Linked DNA regions of Homo sapiens: regions 2, 3 and 4 are each linked to region 1. The links are contacts of gene promoters, found by promoter capture Hi-C in human tissues and cell types (Jung and others, 2019). All regions are on one chromosome and are shown on one strand. Each heading gives the region's core, a stretch centred on a gene start or on the middle of the fragment in contact. The rest is flanking DNA. Distances are from core to core; before and after follow the strand shown.

Region 1 (3,301 bases), core at 449-2,948:
ACTGGATTATTTCCTTATTAGACTAGATTCCTATTCCCCGCCCTTGAGTTGTTTGCAAAAAATGCATCAGTGGGGGAGGACAAAGACAGGGCATCCCTGATAAGATTCAGAGAACACCCTGCTGGCTCCAGTGTTCCCAAAGAACTTGCTGCAGATGTAACAAGATGTCACAGATTCTCAACACCTTACCGCCTCCTGCCCCGCCCAGGACTACAGAATCAGCATCTCTTCAGGTGGCACCAGAAATGTATACATTAATACATTCTATGCTTGTTAACAATCCAGCTCCTGTGGCTGGGATGCAGGAGTCCCCTCTCCCACGCTCTTCCCTTGAGCCTCAGGAGACAACTGACTGCAGGAATATAAACCCCAGGAATTCTCTTAAGAGAAGCCAGCGGCTGCGTGCCTCTCCCTGGAGGCCCTCCCTTACCTTCCTCATCCCCTGGAGGGTAGAGTTTCAGGAGGGATAGATCATCTGGGATAAGGCGAAGGCTGCTTTTAACCTGCAAAGACAAAGAAGGGAGAGGGGTCAGGCCCAAGTCCTTCCCCTACCGAAAGAAAAAATTGGGGGTAATTCTTCCCTGACACCCAGCTCCCAAATCCTCCCTAAGATCGTGGACACCTTGGCCCTCTCCTGGCAACCTAGAAGTCCAGCTTCCCCAGGATTCAGAATGGAAGTACCCTTCACCCTTTCCTCCATCTGCCTAAGACACTCTGAAATGTATGCTTCCTTGCCCTTTTTAACTAGGTTACTAGCCGCCCCTCTACCCCTGACTCTTAGGGACTCTCAGCCCATTGCTCACACGACCATCGGGGGACCCCAGCCTCTGGAGCCGCCCAGTCCTCTCTGAACCCGCATGGACCCCAACCCCCAATACTGCAGCTCCCTGGCTTCATTTGCCATGGACCCCAACCTCAAAATCCAACGGCCCCAGGTCCTCCCAGTCCCTCTCCAAAATCTCAGGAATCCCAGCTCTTCAGCCTCCCTGTGCCCCCAAGACTCTAGCTCCTAGGAATCCTAAACTTCCAACGCATCCCACCCTCCTTCACCACCCCAGTCTGCAGAAAGTCCCGGAGCCCTGCCTCTCCCTGCCTCCAACACCCTAACGCCCGAGGACCAGCCCCAGAACGCCAGCCTCAACACCCCTATAGCCCTACCCTCCCCGAACGCCGGCCCCTCCCTGGAGGCCAAGCCCTTGGCCCTTCCGCCGGTCCCCTCCCCGGGACCGGGCGCACCTTCCCCGAGTACACCGGAACCAGCGGCGCCTCCCCCGGATCCAGCACCAGCCGCCGCCGCCGCCTGACCGGCTCCCGCGGGGGTCCTGCGGGCCGCCTGTCCTCCCCTTCGCTGTCACTGTTGCTGTTATCCCGGGACGCGACCGGCCCCGGGGGCTCCGGGGGCTCCACCTCAACCTCGTCCGCGGCACCGCGAGCGGTGGCGACCTCCAGAATTTCCTCATCGCTGTCGGTGACCAAGTCCACAGACACTACGTCCAGCGTGCCCCGGGATGGAGACCGCTGGGCCCGAGGACGCCGGCCCCGACCGCCCCAGCCGCCCCGACCCCCTCGGCCGGCACCGCTACCTCCGGACCAGCGGCCCCGCTTCCCCACAGGCTCCGCCATGGCACACTTTCCTCCACAACACACGCCCGCCTCCTCTCGCCTCGCCCCGCCCCCTTCAGCGACTTTCGCCTTGCATTGGACAAACAGCCTGCTCGTCAGCAACTCTTCGCGCCCCACGCGCGGGATCCGCCTTCCCGCCTTTTCATTGGTCTCTGTACCCGCTCATCATGCGCCCACCTCTGAAACCAAGGCGCCAAAGATTCCAATCACCTCGGCACAATCACCGTAGCTTTCGATTCAGTCGGCCTCACCCATTGGCTGGGCCACCTCTCCACAGACGAGCCTCTCCCGGACCCGCCCAACCAAGACAACCGTCTTCCGGCTTGGTTAGTCGCAGGGCATCCTGGGAAATGTAGTCCTCGAGCGGTAAGGTTTCCGGGAGAAGGAAGGCGGGCCTGGAATTCCCTGTGGAAACCGCGGATTTAACCAGGCGCGGTGCCTCACGCCCGTAATCCTGGCACTTTGAAAGGCTGAGGCGGGCAGATTGGTTGAGCTCAGGAGTTTGAGACCAGCCTGGCCAATGTGGCGAAACCGCGTCTCTACTAAGAATGCAAAAATTACCCGGGCGTGGTGGCACCCCTCTGTGGTCCCAACTACTCAGGAGGCTGAGGTGGGAGTTTCGCTGGAGCCCGGGAGGCGGAGATCGCACCACTGCACCCCAGCCTGGGTGACAGGGCGAGACCCTGTCTCAAAAATGCTTTAAAGAAATAATAAGGCTGGCCGCGCGCGGTGGCTCACGCCTGTAATCCCAGCACTTTGGGAGGCCGAGGCAGGCGAATCACGAGGTCAGAAGTTCAAGACCAGCCTGGCCAACACGGTGAAACCCCGTCTCTACTAAAAATACAAAAATTAGGCGGGCGTGGTGGCGTGCGCCTGTAATCCCAGCTACTCAGGAGGCTGAGGCAGGAGAATTGCTTGAGCCCGGGAGGCAGAGGTTACAGTGAGCCAGATCCTGCCGCTGCACTCCAGCCTGGCCGACAGAGCGAGACTCTCTCTCAAAAAAAGAAAGAAAGATAGAAATAATAAGGCTGGGCGTGGTGGCTCACGCCTATAATCCAGCACTTTGGGAGGCCGAGGTGGGCAGATCACCTGAGGTCAGGAGTTCGAGACCAGCCTGACCAACATGGTAAAACCCTGTCTCTACTAAAATACAAAAATTAGACAGGCGTAGTGGCAGGCGCCTATAATCTCAGCTACTCGGGAGGCTGAGGCAGGAGAATCGCTGGAACCCAGGAGGCAGAGGTTGCACTGAGCCAAGATTGTACCACTGCACTCCAGCCTGGGCAACAGAGTGAGACTCCATCTCAAAAAAAAATCTTATGTATTTATTTATTTTTAAATTTTATTTTATTCATTTATTTAATTTTATTTATTTATTTATTTTGAGATGGAGTTTCGCTCTTATTGCCCAGGCTGGAGTGCAATGGCTCGATCTCGGTTCACTGCAACCTCTGCCTCCCAGATTCAAGCAATTCTCGTGCCTCAGTCTCCAAGTAGCTGGGATTGATTACAGGCGTGCACTACCATGCCCAGCTAATTTTGTATTTTTAGTGGAGATGGGGTCTCACCATGTTGGTCAGGCTGGTCTTGAACTCCTGACCTCAGGTGATCCACCCCCCTCCGCCCCCGCCTTGGCCTCCCAAAGTGCTGGGATTACAGGCGTGAGCCACTGCGCCCG
Region 2 (3,438 bases), core at 391-2,890, 660 kb after region 1:
TCCCCCTCCCGACTCCCTCTCAGTTCTACAGGGAGGGAAGTCCTGGTCCCCAAAGAGGGTATGCTCTAGCCAGGGGACACAGCATGGGTCCCATTAAATTTAAGCTGTGGCCGGGGCTGGGAAACTTTGGACTCCATGTGTTCTGGGACCAGCAGGTGAGAAGAGAGGGCACCAGCATGGCTGCACTAACTGACCCTGGTCAGCAGAGAGGGCAGGGCTGCTTTTACAGTGGGAGGACAAGGAGGAATATATGGGAATCCAGTGATCCATGGGTTACAATAACCAATAATTTAGGTCCCTCAGGACTGAAGGGTCGGGTCACATCACCAGGTAACCCACCAAGGCCTGCCAAGGCGACGGTGGAGAGTGTGGATAATTTAGAATGGATAGTGAAGAAAGAAAGAACAAGCGCTGGTTATGGCCTCTCGATAACTGCAGCAAGGAGGCGGGGGCTCTAGCATGTTCCACTAATCTCCCTCTTCAAAGTTTTCCCATAGAAAGAGAGGCTCACAGGATCCATGGTAGAGCTGAGTAGTGCAAGGGATGGAAGGTGACGGCCCTGAAAATGTGCCATTCAGACCTCTGACTTCAGGAAAAGTCATTGACCAAGGGCAGCAGCTGTGAAACCCATCTGTGGTTCACACAGGAAGGCTCTGGTTTGCTTCCCACGAGCTGATCCCAGCCAAAGAACTAAGGCGCGTCTGTTCGTGGAGACACAGGACTCCTCGAACAGGCAGCTTTGGATCAAGGACTCCCCCTTGACTTTGTAAAAACTTTCTCACTGCACTGCAGTTGAAGACTCTTCCTCTCCCATCATCCTTCCTTCTGTCTCTCTTTTCCACGTGTTAGATCTAGTACAGTCTGATGATCTTCCCAGCTTCCTCTTCCTCCCTCCTTCTTGGTCCCTCCCAAGGGTTTTCCTCAATAAATCATTTGCACATCTGGCCCACCTTGCCTGCTTCTCAGAGGATGGAACCAACACAACACATCTGAAGAGAGGCACAGAAGTGGTGACTTTGGGAGGCCAAGGTGGGCAGATCACCTGAGTTTGGGAGTTCAAGACCAGCCTGGGCCAACATGGCGAAACCCCATCTCTACTAAAAATACAAAAATTAGCTGGGCATGGTGGCACGCACCTGTAGTCTCAGCTACTCGGGAAGCTGAGGCCCAAGAATCACTTGAACTGGAGAGGCAGAGGTTGCCATGAGCCAAGATTGTGCCATTGCGCTCCAGTCTGAGCAACGGAGTGAAACTCTGTCTTTCAAAACAAAGCAAACAAAACCAAAAACAAACAAACAAAAACAAAAAAAGAAGTAGCAGCCTGCAATGGTGCAGTCCTTTGTCCCTGACGCCTAGGGATAAGCCACTCTTGCCAGCTCAAAGGTGCCACCTCTCCAGAGAGGGTCTTGATGGGTATAATTTGGATAGCGGAACACAAAGAAAAAACTTAGCCATGATTTTATTTTCCTTCTTTCTTCTTTTTTTTTTTTTTTTGAGATGGAGTCTTGCTCTGTCACCCAGGCTGGAGAGCAATGGCACAATCTCGGCTCACTGCAGCCTCCGCCTCCCAGGTTCGAGCAGTTCTCTTGCCTCAGCCTCCCAAGTGGCTGGGATTACAGGCACGTGCCACCATGCCCAGCTAATTTTTTTTTTTTTGTATTTTTAGTAGAGATGGGGTTTCACCATATTGGTCAGGCTGGTCTCAAACTCCTGACTTTGGGTGATCTGCCCACCTCGGCCTCCCAAAGTGCTGGGATGACAGGCGTGAGCTACCTAGTCCAGTCTCTTTTCTTTTTTTAATTTAATTTTTATTTATTTATTTAGTTTTATTTATTTATTTATTTCTTGAGATGTAGTCTTGCTCTTCTCCCCCAGGCTGGAATGCAATGATGCGATCTCGGCTCACTGCAACCTCCACCTCTCGGCTTCAAGCAATTCTCCTGCCTCAGCCTCCCGGGTAGCTGGTACTACAGGCTCCTGCCACCACGCCCAGCAATTTTTGTATTTTTAGTAGCGACAGGGTTGTACCATGTTGGCCATCCTGACCTCAGGTGATCTGCCTGCCTTGGCCTCCCAAAGTGCTGGGATTACAGGCATGAGCCACTGTGTTCAGTTGGCCATACTGATAGACTCCAGGCTTTGGGAAACTGATGGCATTTGGGGATTTCCCCAGCATGTCCTGTGATGCTCTTGATTCCTTGTGTCTCCAGTCATGACAGAGAGAAGGCATTCCTGGCTTGTTGGTCCACATTTATGATTTGTTGATGTTGTTGTTGAGATGGAGTCTCACCTTGTCGCCCAGGCTGGAGTACAGTGGCGTGATCTTGGCAACCTCCATCTCTTGGGTTCAAGTGATTCCTCTGCCTCAGCCTCCCAAGTAGCTGGGATTAAAGGGGCGTGCCAGCATGCCTGGCTAATTTTCATATTTTTAGTAGAGATGGGGTTTCACCATGTTGGCCAGGCTGGTCTCGAACTCCTGACCTCAGGTGATCCACCAGCCTTGGCCTCCCAAAGTGCTGGGATTACAGGCGTGAGCCACTGTGCCTGGCCTGTGATTTTTTTATTTTTTCAGAAGGGGTCTCGCTCTATTGCCCAGGTTGGTTCTGAACTCCTGGGCTCAAGAGATCCTCCCGCCTCAGCATCCTGAGTAGCTGGGACTACAAGTGTGAGCCACTGTGCCAGGCACAATGGTCTTTTGTAGTGGAGAACCTCCTCCCTGGGACCACTGGAAGACACAGGCCAAGTTATTGCTGATAGGAAAACCAAGAGGTCCAACAGAACCCAAGATGGATCGGATGGAAGATGGCACAGGTGCCCGGGACGTGCAGCACTGGAGTGGGTGATGGATCCTGGAATCTCTCCATCCCTTTTTGGAGTGTACATTCTGCAGTGAGAAACAGTGCCCCAGCACAAGTACTGATGAGCTCTCCACTGCCGAAATACAACTCTGTGACCATGGCCAGCAGGAAGCCACTGATGAGGGGAAACACAGTGTGACGGTGCCCAGGGAAAGAACCTGCTTCTTTGTGACATCACGGAGCTGCTGAGCCGCTTGAACTTGGAGCCACTTTGAGTTGGGAATTCTGGCTTTTTTGCAGCTGAAAGTGTGCCAACCCCGTACAAGAAGAACAGCTGCAGGTCTGCATGTGGCGGCTCGCGCCAACACTTTGGGAGGCTGAGACAGGAGCATCTGCTTGAGCCCAGGAGTTCGATACCAGCCTGGGCAACATAGTGGGATCCTGTCTCTACAAAAAATAAAAGTGATGAGAAGAATAGCCCTAAAATCATGAGAGTGGTTGCCCCTCGGGACGGCACCAAGGAAATAGGACTGGTGCGGGGAGTATAATAGGAATTCATCTTTATCTGTTATCCTTTGTCTTTTTATTTTGAGACGGAGTCTCATTCTGTCACCCAGGCCGGAGTGCAGTGGTGTAATCT
Region 3 (3,348 bases), core at 718-3,217, 710 kb before region 1:
GCATGGTGGTGGGTGCCTGTAATCTCAGTTACTCGGGAAGCTGAGGCAGGAGAATCGCCTGAACTTAGGAGGCAGAGGTTGCAGTGAACTGAGATCGTGCATTGCACTCCAGCCTGGGCGACAAAGCGAAACTCTGTCTCAAAAGAAAAAAAAAAAGGAGATTCGGGTGAGGATCAGGGTGCCGGGTGGAAACATGGGAGCGAGGGGGCAGTGGGATGGTGAGAGGGAAGGTGCTGGAGGCTGGCTGAGATTCCGGCCTCCAGCCTCACTATTCACCGACACTTAAGGGGCAGCCCCGTCTCCCCCTTCGGGCTCATCAGGAGCTGGGGCGTCCACAGCCCCATCCTCACTGGCCACCAGTGGCTCCTCCTCCCCTTTGAGGCTGGGGCCTGACCCAGACTTCAGCTCCTCCATCGCCAGGGAGCCCTGGCGAGACTTCCGTCTGCCAAAGAAAGTGGTGAGCGTGGGCCGACGGCTAGACCCCTCCCCATCGGGGAACCCAGAGCCCTTGTCGCCCCCGGACCCTCCCACGGTCACTGTCACGGCCCCCTCCTCAGGGACCTGGGCTGGCCCAGCCCAGGCGTCCACCACCCCGTTACGCTTGCCGCCTCTGCTCAGCACGAGGGCCCCAGTCCGCCGCTTCTGCCGCCGGCGCCACAGCAGGAGCAGAGCCACGAGGACTATGACCGCCAGCAGGGCCACAAGCACAGCCACTGGCAGCATGCCTCGTGAGTTCTCATCTGGGTTCCGGAAGGGCACAGTGCTTGCGTTGGTGGAGGTCGTTGGAGACATCATTGTAGATAGTTTTACGCTAGAGACCTGGGGTCCACTGGCCCCGCTGGAGGGCTCCAGAGAGCCAGTTGTCATGGTAACAGGGGGTCCAGTGGTCCCAGTGGAGGTCTCCAGAGAGTCAGTTGCCATGGTAACAGGGGGTCCAGAGGTGCCTTTGGAAGTCTCCAGAGAGACAGTTGCCATGGTAAGAGGGGGTCCAGAGGTGCCTCTGGAGGTCTCCAGAGAGCTAGCTGCCGTGGTAACAGGGGCTCCACTGGTCCTACTGGAGGTTTCTGGAGAGTTCGTTGTTATGGTTCCACCTGTCACGGTGTGGGATCCTAGAGAGTTTGCTGTTATGGGAACAGCAGGATGACTGGTTGCATGAGGGGTTTCCTGGGGCACTGATGACATCTTGATGGAAACTTCCTGGTAGGTTGTTGGCTCAGGTAAAGGGGAACCAGTGCTGGCACCAATGGAAGTCCAAAGAGGGGATCCCTCATTGATGGAAGTTGAGGGAGGTAGGGCTGAGGTCTGGTCCCCAGTGCTGTCGGCCTTAGGGTCACTTGTTATTGAAGTGGTGTACATCTTTGAGCTCAGGGGCTCGCTAGTAGAGACCAAAGGCTCTCCGGAGGTGGGTGTCTGCACTGCTGTTGTGCTCCCCAGAGCGTCTGGGCTTACCACCAGCACCCCAAGGAGAAGGAGAAGCGTGGCCATTTCCAGGCAAACAGGCAGGAGCAAGAGCTGGGACCTGCAGGTGGGCAGCCGGAGAAGCAGAACACGCGGGAGTTGCCGGAGGACCTGGCCGGGCCTCCCCTCTGCCCACTTCCCTGCCAACGGCCAGGCCCAACCTGCGGTTTAACGGTTTTTTCCATGCTGGCTTTTACTGTTATCAGAAATGACAGAGGAACAGATGCTGGCAGCTCCCCCATCAGCCCCATCCTGAGGCTCCCTCCAGCCTCAGCAGCTTAGATTCCAGCAGTGACCAGCCCCTCCTGGCCTTCCCTGACCCTGTGCAGCCCAATGGCTCCCAATCTCTTCCCATCATAACCTGTCAGAGTCTTTTCAAGCCACAGGCACATTCCCAGGCCCACTGAGGCCCCTACCCCACCAAGTCTCACCCTCTTACCGGCTCGGCTGATAAGGACGCAGCACTGGGGCCAGGTCACTCCACCACCTCCCGAGGCTGGGGCAAGACTGGGAAGGACAGGGCCCCAAGGGGAAAGGAAGTGGGCCCTGGCTCCACCCACCCCACCCACCCCTCCATCCTGCCCCACCCGCCTGCTCCCACAGCTGCTGGGCGAAGACAGCACCATCACCTGCTCCTTCAGGGGCCAGCGGGGTGCCTGGGGGTCTGGGGCTCACCTGAGGGAGGCAGGGAAGCGTGGGATCTGGAATCAGGATTCCTGGCTCTTGGCTGAGGAATGGGATGGAAGTGGTGATGCTAGGGAGGGCTGGGCTCAGAGGTGGGTGGTGGGAATGTGAGCCTGAGAACTCAAGGGTGCAGAGGAGGAGGTGGGAGGGGAGGGTGGTTTCCTTTGCATTTGTGGTCCCCAAGCTGTTAGGCCAGGAGCTGAGTGGCGCCATTTCCTGCCCTCAGAGCTCCCAGGAAGTAGCAGGGCAAGAGGAAGCCCCCGAGTCTGGCTGGGGGCCGTGAAAACCTTTGCAGGCTGGTGAGCTCTTGACTCTGTCCGGGGAGCTGGGGGTCACCACAGTGGCCCCCAGTCACAGAGACGTGGCTAAACCAAGGTGGTTCCTACACACTGCATATGCTAGGATCTTATTTCTGCAAACTAGTAAAGATGTGGGAATCTTTTTTTTTTTTTTTAAGGCGGAGTTTAGTGCAATGGCATGATCTTGGCTCGGCTCAGCACAATGTCTGCCTCCTAGGTTCAAGCAATTCTCCTGCCTCGGCCTCCTGAGTAGCTGGGATTACAGGCTTGCACCACTGTGCCCGGCTAATTTTGTATTTTTCGTAGAGACGAGGTTTCTCCATGTTGGTCAGGCTGGTCTCGAACTCCTGACCTCAGGTGGTCCATCCGCCTCAGCCTCCCCAAGCGCTAGGATTACAGGTGTGAGCCACCGCGCCTGGCCAGATATGGGAATCTATATGGAAAACCGTCTGGAAAGATATCTACTAAGGGATTCACCTAATTGTCTTTGGATAGGTGAGAGTAGGAGGTGGGGGTATTTTCTTCTTTGAATGGTTCCCATTTCCTGACTTTCCTCTAATTAGCAAGCTTTGACTCTCGGTTTGTGTATGTTTTTGGTTTTTGTTCTTGAAAAACGAAAATCAGTCCCGGGTGTGGTGATACATTATGCTGGCAGTCCAGGCCAAAGTGGGAGGACCTCCTGAGCCCAAGAGTTTGAAACCAGCCTGGGCAACGTAGCAAAACTCCTATCACTAAAAAAATAAATAATTTTTTAAAATCAAAACTGATTTGTATATTTTAAGAGCAACATGTGCACAATAGAAGATTCTAACAGGCCCGTGGGACTGTGCCATTTCTACAAGCTGATGAGTTTGTCTGACCCAAAGACATGAGACTCCTGGGTGAGAGCCACAGGAATTAATTGCTC
Region 4 (3,162 bases), core at 64-2,563, 890 kb before region 1:
GCTGCCTAAGCTGGTCTCAAAGTCCTAGACTCAAGCGATCTACCCACCTCAGCTTTCCAAAGTGCTGGGATTATAGATGTGAGCCACCACGCCCAGCACCGCCTGTTTCTTAAAAAAATTTTGAGATATAATCCACATATGAAATTTTCCCATCTAGAGTATACAATTCACAATTCAGTTGTTTTAGTATACTCAAAGTTGTCCAACCATCACTGCTATGTTAAGTCTAGAGTATTTTCGTCATCACCCTGAAAAGAAATCCTGTACCTAGAAGTTACTGCCACTCCCCACCTACCCCACCCACCACTAGTCTATTTTCTTTATGTGTTTACCTATTCTGGACATTTCACATAAATGGAATCATGCAATATGTGGTCTTTGATGTCTGGCTTTTTTCTTTTTCTTTTTTTGAGATGGAGTCTCGGCTCAGCAGCCCAGGCTGGAGTGCAGTGGTGGGATCTCGGCTCACTGCAACTACTGTCTTCCAGGTTCAAGAGATTCTCCTGTCTCAGCCTCCCGAGCAGTAGCTGGGATTACAGGCACCCGCCATCATGCTAGCTAATTTTTGTATTTTAACAGAGACGGGGCTTCACCATGTTGGCCAGGCTGGTCTTGAACTCCTGACCTCAGGTGATGTGCCCACCTCAGCCTCCTAAAGTGTTAGGATTACAGGCGTGAGCCACTGCGTCCAGCTGGCTTCTTTCACTTAGCATAACATTTTCAATTTTATCCATGTTGTAGCACGTATGTCATTATTTTTTGTTTTTCCTAGAGACAGGATCTCACTCTACTGCCTCAGGCTGGAGTACAGTGGCACAATCATAGCTCACTATACACTCCACTTCCTGGGGTCAAGCGATTTTCCCACTTTAGCCTCCCAAATAGCTGGGACTACAGGTGTGCCACCATGCCTGGTCAATTTTTAAAAGTTTTTGTAAAAATGGGGTCTCACTATGTTACCCAGGCTGGTCTCAAACTCCTGGCTTCAAGCAATCCTCCTGCCTCGGCCTCCCAAAGCACTGGGATTATAGTCATGAGCTGTTGCGCCTGGCCTGCCATTTCTTTCTTATGGCTGAATGATATTCCATTGTATGGATATGCTACAATTTTTTATCCATTCATTATATATGTACATTTGGGTTATTTCTAATTTTTTTTTTTTTTTGAGACAGTCTTGCTCTGTCACCCAGGCTGGAGTGCAGTGGTGTGATCTCGGCTCACTGCAACCTCCGCCTCCCGGGTTCAAGCAATTCTCCTGCCTCAGCCTCCAGAGAAGCTGGGATTACAGGTGCCTGACACCATGCCCAGCTAATTTTTTTGTATTTTTAGTAGAGAAAGGGTTTTGCCATGTTGGCCAGGATGGTTTCTAACTCCTGACCTCAAGCGATCCACCCGCTTTGGACTCGTAAAGTGCTGGGATTACACATGTAAGCCACCATGCCTGGCCTATTTCTACTTTTTCTGCCTCCTGTTTTTGCAGATAAACTATTCCAGGAGCATGGCAGTACTCACTTGTTTACGTAGTGCCCAAGCTGCTTTCCTGACATAACAGCAGAGTTGAAGAACTTCCACAGAAACAATGACTCACGGAGCCTGGAGTATCTACCATCCAGCCCCCTTTACAGAATGAGTTTGGCAACTGCTGGTATTCCCACATATAGTTCAGAGAGGGGATGAAGTAGGGGGTGGGAGAGGGTAAACCAAGAGGTTTATTTTACAAAAGATGACAAAGCAAAGTGAACACCAGGATATTAAAGATGTGAAATATAGTCACTGCATGATAGTTCAGTCCATTACAGACTGCACATGGTGGTCCCGTAAGATTATAATGGAGATTTTTTTTTTTTCTGAGAGTCTCACTCTATCGCCCAGGCTAGAGTGCAGTGGCACGATCTCGGCTCACCACAGGCTTGATCTCCAGGGTTCAAGTGATTCTCGTGCCTCAGCCTCCCGAGTAACTGGAATTACAGGTGTGTGCCACCACACCTGGCTAATTTTTGTATTTTTAGTAGAGACAGGGTTTCCCCACGTTGGCCAGGCTAGTCTCGAACTCCTGACCTCAAGTGATCCACCTGCCTCGGCCTCCCAAAGTGCTGGGATTACACGTATGAGCCACTGTGCTGGCCTATAACGAAGCTTTTATATTGTATTTTTACCTTACCTTTTCTATGGCTAGATACACAAGTACTTGCCATTGTGTTCAGCTGCCTGCAGTATTCAGGACAGTCACATGCTGCACAGGTTGGCAGCCTAGGGGCAGGCTACGCCATCTAGACTAGGTGCCATCTAGGTTTGCATAAGTGCACTCTTTTGCACAAAGACAAAATCATCTAAGGACTATTTCTCAGAATGTATCCCCATCATTAAGTGGCGCATGACTGTATCAGAGTTTCAGAGTCTCAGGCAGCGGGTAGCCAGGAGGCCTTCCCAGAAGGGGAATTAACTTCAGGTCTGAGGGGTAAGTCAGAGGCTGCCAGGAATCAAATGGGCCAGTGTCTCAGGTGTGTAAGAACTAAGCATGCAAAGGCACAGAAGGTGTTCCTAGAACGTGCGTCTGGAGGAGAGAAGGCAGAGGGCCTCATGCCACTAGAGGACATACATCTCCCAGGGCAGTCCTCTGTGGGGGTGTAGGGACCTCACCTTGACCACGCGCTTCTGCCCCAGCTGATTCTTGCCATCCGGTCCGACAGGGTCGAGAATCACGCAGTAGTTGTGGGGGCCCAGGGTGGTGATGGGCACAACCCCCAGCACCTCCTCGTGGACATCTGGCACGTGGGCCTCTGTGTCCTGCACTGTTACCAGCCACTCCTCCCCAGTGCGGCGGGACACTCCCCTGAAGTCCCGGAAGTTCCGCCGAGCCCGGAGGTGCAGGGCTGTCTGCAGAGCAACATGTTGGGTATTTGAGTGACCTGCCTCCAACTTCAGGGGATCTGCGAGCCCCATTGGCCACCAAATGCTCCCAATGCTCCCAGATCTCAGAGACAATTTCTACCAATCCAGGGATTGTTTTTTTTTTTTTTTAAATCGGAGTCTCTCTCTTGTTGCCCAGGCTAGAGTGCAAAGGTGCGATCTCAGCTCACTGCAACTTCCGCCTCCTAGGTTCAAGCGATTCTCCTGCCTCAGCCTCCTGAGTACAGCTGGGATTACAGGTGGGTGACACCA

Evidence for each region. The method cuts DNA at HindIII sites, captures the fragments that hold promoters and counts their contacts. A contact is called where the count stands out against the background at its distance.
Region 2: a contact is called between a fragment that was not itself captured here and the fragment with the promoter of NFATC2IP in region 1, in 1 of the 25 tissues and cell types used here (dorsolateral prefrontal cortex).
Region 3: the fragment with the promoter of SPN here is called in contact with the fragment with the promoter of NFATC2IP in region 1 in 2 of the 25 tissues and cell types used here (dorsolateral prefrontal cortex and lymphoblastoid cells).
Region 4: a fragment that was not itself captured here is called in contact with the fragment with the promoter of NFATC2IP in region 1 in 1 of the 25 tissues and cell types used here (dorsolateral prefrontal cortex).

The regions. Positions count from the first base shown.
Region 1 is chr16:28,949,334-28,952,634 of GRCh38, reverse strand. NFATC2IP (nuclear factor of activated T cells 2 interacting protein) reads right to left here and starts at 1,698. Exons shown (of 8, transcript NM_032815.4): 1 at 1,237-1,698; 2 at 431-503. The coding sequence starts at 1,623. RefSeq lists silencers at 1,243-1,362, 1,503-1,602 and enhancers at 1,322-1,822, 1,842-2,376. The HindIII fragment of the contact is 8,980 bases long and covers 1-3,301 here.
Region 2 is chr16:28,285,505-28,288,942 of GRCh38, reverse strand. LOC124903670 (a long non-coding RNA gene) reads left to right here. Exons shown (of 2, transcript XR_007065033.1): 2 at 1,876-3,438. It also overlaps a transcript of SBK1 not described here. Among named protein-coding and RNA genes, the nearest start is that of SBK1, 5.3 kb to the left of the region's middle. The HindIII fragment of the contact is 6,033 bases long and covers 1-3,438 here.
Region 3 is chr16:29,661,866-29,665,213 of GRCh38, reverse strand. SPN (sialophorin) reads right to left here and starts at 1,967. Exons shown (of 2, transcript NM_003123.6): 1 at 1,898-1,967; 2 at 1-1,519. The coding sequence starts at 1,485. The coding sequence ends at 283. RefSeq lists silencers at 863-982, 2,243-2,302 and enhancers at 2,483-2,562, 3,203-3,252. The HindIII fragment of the contact is 34,536 bases long and covers 1-3,348 here.
Region 4 is chr16:29,836,437-29,839,598 of GRCh38, reverse strand. MVP (major vault protein) reads right to left here. Exons shown (of 15, transcript NM_005115.5): 7 at 2,641-2,877. Among named protein-coding and RNA genes, the nearest start is that of MVP, 18 kb to the right of the region's middle. The HindIII fragment of the contact is 6,347 bases long and covers 1-3,162 here.